Regions from separate parts of the Homo sapiens genome. Here region 1 is linked to region 2. Evidence: promoter capture Hi-C in human tissues and cell types (Jung and others, 2019). All regions are on one chromosome and are shown on one strand. The core of a region is centred on a gene start or on the middle of the fragment in contact, and the rest is flanking DNA. Distances in the headings are between cores, read along the strand shown.

Region 1 (2,700 bases), core at 179-2,678, 42 kb after region 2:
TTCAGTTTCTTCTTTAGGCAGTTGATTTGATTAAAACAAAAGAAAACAAAAATAAACAACCAACTCACACTTCTGGTCCTTTCTCTGGAAATTATGAATAAAAATATCAATAAAACTTTAAAATAGAATTTTAGCAGTCTCCCTATTTGAGAAGGAGAATCTCACAATTTTCACTGGTAGGCAATTCATGTGGGATTGTAATGCATGAGTGTGGGAAATAAATAAAATGATTGCTTTTTTTTTTTTCGTAATGGCCTAAAATGATAGCTTCTTGATTTAATAAACCTTTCCCCTACTCCCTACCACCACCCCTCTGCAACTTACCTACAATACACATATTCTAGTGCTTATCAAATTATAAAAGCTGGGCTCATGAAATAACAGGAGGATTTTTGTTTTCTGATATCAGTCAAAAATTGTTTGGAAGACAGGCAGAACAAGTTAAAGTGAAAGCCTAATATAGTGAAGGGAAAGATTTGTGTGCCAGCCACAGATGGACTAAGTTCGTTCTCACATAAATATTATCCTTTTTTTCTTGCCAGGACTGAACTGCAGTCATTGTCTTAATTAACTCAGGGAGTTTTCAGTTACAGCTTCAAAATCTCAGTCTTCTGGAAATTGTCATCTGGCTTTGTGTTGTCCCTAAGTAGCTGTGTGACCTGGAGGGAGGCACTTAACCAATTCAGGCCTCAGTATTGGGAGTCAAGGGTATGGAGGCCCAGTTTAGCTTTCTTCTAGCCCTGATGTTCTGTGAATCTGTTATTCAAGTTTATGGACAAGTTCCCACAGAGAAGGTTAGTAGAGTTTTTTAAAATTATTATTATTAAGCAATGGGTATTTTACTAAACAGTACTCAACTATTTTTTGCAAAGTGTTAATTTGTAGAACGTTTTGAAACTCCGCATAGAAAATGAATGCACAGGTCAAGGCTAACATAGCCTTTCAGCCATATTGTCTGGAATTGTTTTTTTTTTAAAACATATAATAAAAATTAAAGTTGAAGAAGAAATGCCAAAAATATATTTTTGATGGAAAATAACAACTTACACTGATTAGCATTTATTTCAATGAAATATGAATCTTTAAAACATAGGATTTAAACATCTTTCAATGGACATATACATTATTGTCTCAGATTCATAAAAATGTCTTGTAAGCTATCATTTCTCCTCTATTTACACTGTCTTTTGTGGGGGAAATAAAAAGACTAAACAGTGTTTAGATTATCTCTACACATTTTACATTTCTCCCAAAGGCTGCTGTGTAATGGTTGGCATCTGAGAGAATAAACAGGAAATTAGTGAGGCTGAGGTTCTCCTTCATCTTTTGCCAGGGCTGGACTCCTTGCTTCATTTATTTTCATAGGACACCAGAAATCTGAGAACAGTATTTAAGCTGACTACGTTTCTTTTATAGCTGGCCTTTTATAGATGGTCTACATGTGGCAATCTACAGATTGCCAGATCTTTCTCCTTTTCTCCAACTTAGTGTGTTGGCATTTGAAGTACCAAATGTCCTCTTCACCAATGAATAGTTTAGAGGAAGATGAACAGTGTAGCCCTTTAGGCATCGTAAAATACTGTATTTTTTTTCATAATCATGAAGGTAATATGTTTGTTATAGAAAATTTGGAAAATTAATATAATCCAAAATCCTACAACCCACAAATCACCACTTTTGATATTGTACTGTTGTTCTTTTTGGTCTTTCATCAATTTTTTTGACTACTTGTATTCATTAAGCAGGTATTCAATTTATTATTCAAACTGTTTCCAAGGTGAGCTGCTAAGAATGTTAATAGGTGTTCTGGGTCACTGGGGACATTGGGAAACTTTCCATGTCATATACGTTTGGGAAAATGCCAGATTGAACGATGTTAGACTTAGATTTGTCACAGACACCCCCCTCAGGGATGAGCTTCCTGAAAGGGCTCTATGACTCTTCTCTACTTGGGAAGGTACATTGGGCAAAGCCTGGAAGTTATTGGACAGAGAACTGGCTTTGGCCCTGCACCCACTAATGTTGTAATGTGGTGTTCTTCAGATGGCAGTGTGGATCTTATTTGGTTTTTGTTTGTTTTACGAAATTGAGATCTCATGCTTTTGTAACCTCCTTTTCCTACTTAATATATTATGAATGTTTTCTACTTTAAATCTGTTTTTCAAAGAGTTGCTTTCTCTCATTGTTATTTTTGAAAATATTCCATTTATGAAAGTTCCATTTATGAAGCTGGGGCCTAGCCCAGGTGACAGATCATTTCAGTCTGTGGGGATACTCTTGAAAGGTTCTGTCTGGGTTATAAAATGTTTATACTCATTTGAAATGTTTCCATCTTCCACCCACCCATTCTGACAAACCTTTAATTTTGGACAACTGCTGTTGAGGCTGTGGATTCACAGTTCCCAAAGCCACTGCTAATTTGTTTGCTTTGGAAAGACCTGACAAAAATAGACTTCTTTTAACACAAATGGATAATTTTCTCCCATTGATGGGCAGTTCATTTAAGAATATTTTATTTATTGTATTATAAAAATAGCCTCTTTGAGACGAATGGCCTGCTCCAAGTAACTCTCATAAAACATAGGGATTTTCTTCCATACAGAAATAATTACTTTGATTTAAAATGGGATATTGCCTTCTCAAAGTATTTTTTCCACTATGAAGTATATAGAAGTATGTATTTAATGTGTCTTAAAGTCC
Region 2 (2,700 bases), core at 1-2,500:
AGGCGGAGTGGGGAGGAGGGAGCCCTCCGGAGTTCGGGAGCAGCACGTTGTGAGGGTCCACACAAGGGTGATGCCAGACCGAACACCATTAGGGCCTGGGTGTGAGTGTGACTCGGAGGCACCTGGGGGCCGTTGTAGGGCCGGGAAAAGCCAGGAACTGGCTGGAGCAGCACCCCAGCATCCCAGGGACCAAAGTCTGGGGGATTTGCATGTCTGAGGTTGCACTTGTGGGAAGACTTTTTGGAACCACTTAATCTCTGTGGCTCTGTGTAAGACCCGCGAAATAAAAAGAGGCAGTAGTACTCTTTGGAAGATTGTTTTAGGGATTAAATGAATAAAAAGCGTTTAGAACACTGCAGGACGCATTGTAGGCGCTGTATGGGTTTATGAAACCGAATATAAACAAATAAGCACGTCCCCCACCCAGCCAACGGCTTTGGGGGCCCCGTTCTGGCCAGTCCTGAGCCCCTCCACACGGCCCACGGCGGGCTGCGGGTCTCCCATCCGAGGAGGGTGCCGCTTTTCTGCCCCCGCTCCCTGGGTTCTGCGCCCAGCGCCATCCCGTGCGCCCCCGACCCTTGGGCATGGGGCACATGCCGCGGGGAGCCGCCAGGGAGACCCCAGAGGAGCGCGCCGCGGGCCGGCTTCCCCGGATGCCCCACCCACCTCCTCTTGGCGCTGCCCACCACCTGCCTCGGCTGCTCGGCCCCCGGCTCGCGAGGCTGCGCCCCCGACCCAGTCGGCGCCCACTCCTCGCCCTGCGGGCTCGCGGCAACTGGGCGGCCGGCCCGGCCCCTGCCCACCCCCAGCCCAGCCCGGCGCGCCGCACTGGGCATGCTCCGTAGCCTGGGCAGGTTGGGGCTGCGAGGCGACAGCTCGGGCTCTGGAGCCGGGAGGCGAGAACGAGGAGGGAGGCTCGGGGGCAGGGGAGGAGGAAGCGGCTGGCCGCTGAGGGGCGGCGGGGCCCGGAGCGGGGGACGCGCAGGGCCCGGCGGTGGGCGGGCGGGTCGGCGCTGCCCCGTGGGCTCGCTGGGGAGCCACGGCGGAGACCCCCGCCCTCAACTGAGGTAAGGACCGCGCGGCGCGGAGACGGGGAGGCGGGGAGGCCAGGGAGGGGGTGCGGAGGCAGGCGGGAGGGCGGGACTGGGGTGCGCCGGGAGGGGGCTTGGCGGCGGCTCTTTATGGCGAGGAGGGGGTGGTGGCGCCGCGCCGGGAGCAGTAAGTGAGCTGCACCGCCAACAAGATCTCTCACACACAGACACACACACGCACACGCACACACGGGCGCGCACACACACGCGCGTACACACTGGGTCTCCAGGCAGCGGCCGTCGCCGCATCCCCGGCAGCAGCTCCAGGCAAAGTGACAGGTAGGAAAAGGCATTTCGGGTCCCGCCCGAGGATGCTCCCGCCCGCCTTGGCCCTCAGGGCTTGTTTGCTTTCCGCGGGTGCGTCCCGGACGCGCGCGCGCGCGCACCCGGATGCCCAGCGGGGACCCCGTGCAGGTGCCGGGTGCCAGGCGCCCTGTGCGCGCGGGAGGCAGGGGACCCAGACGCCATCCCCCTTCCCCTGCAGTCATCGCCTGCTGGGTTTCCTCAGACTCTCTCCAGACGTTCACCCTCTTCTGGGCTAGAAATAGCTCGGCTCGACGTGTATATGATTATTTTGGTTGGAAATAGTTGGCACCGTGCAACGCATGTAAATGTGTATGCGTGTGGATCTTCTTGCCTCTTCTGGGGAAATCATAGAAATGATTGACCGTTTCCACTTAAAACAACACTGACAGGCTTAGCACTCATTGGGGGCAGGGTTCGGGCCTCCTAAAAGCCTGTTAGTGAAGGAAATCCTTATTTTCAGAATTTTAAAGTTGCTTTTGCTTTAACCAATTAGACTCTGTATAGTACAATACTTCTGAGTGTAGACTTCGTATATGGTACTGAATCGAAGTATGGAAATATGGAATTCTCTAATTTCCAAGTGTGTTTAAGTGCAACTTTATCTAGAATCATAAAACTAGCATTTTCCTAGAGAGAAATACAACTGCCCACTATAGTTTCCATAAATATGGATATATCTGAAAGATGACCCTACTCTTCCAACTTTTTTTCCTCTTAACTTCTGTAGTGATTCTAGCTATTGTTCTAAAACATGTATTTGAAATTTAATTTTGGCCAGAATATTCAGGAAAGGTGTTTTTTTTTCCATATACGTAATACTTAGTGGTCTATATATTTAAGTTATAGGTATGTGGAGATAGCTGTTTAATAATTCTTTTTGTCTGGAAATAACGTTATTCAAACATAGGCAGCTATGTATCATTTTAAAATGATATTGAATTTCCCCTTAAAGAGAAATCAGATTTATAATGTAAACATGACCAGGAAAAGCAACTGGTGACTTTACCTGGGGAGGCTCCAAGGAGGTTAAGAAAGTATCTGAACAACTGTGTTTTTCAGAATAGAAAAATTGTGTGTGTGTTGCGGGGGAAGGTAAAATTTTAACTTTATTCTTTTATTGTTTTCAAGACGGCTGTTTTCAGAAATGTGTGGTTGAACTGAGACCCTCATATTTTATACTCTTCAAATTTGAGTGGCCTCAGTTATAGAATCATACAGAAGATCAAAAGTCTAGCTCAGCAGGGGCATGTGGTGTAATCCCTCACTATCTGTGTTATGTAATCCAGAATGCTGTTTTTCATAG

What was found. The method cuts DNA at HindIII sites, captures the fragments that hold promoters and counts their contacts. A contact is called where the count stands out against the background at its distance.
Region 1: a contact is called between a fragment that was not itself captured here and the fragment with the promoter of PLCB4 in region 2, in 1 of the 25 tissues and cell types used here (H1 embryonic stem cells).

Annotation. Positions count from the first base shown.
Region 1 is chr20:9,109,236-9,111,935 of GRCh38, forward strand. The region is part of intron 2 of PLCB4 (phospholipase C beta 4); the gene reads left to right. Among named protein-coding and RNA genes, the nearest start is that of PLCB4, 41 kb to the left of the region's middle. The HindIII fragment of the contact is 6,369 bases long and covers 1-2,700 here.
Region 2 is chr20:9,067,837-9,070,536 of GRCh38, forward strand. PLCB4 (phospholipase C beta 4) reads left to right here and starts at 1,251. Exons shown (of 40, transcript NM_001377142.1): 1 at 1,251-1,370. The HindIII fragment of the contact is 12,704 bases long and covers 1-2,700 here.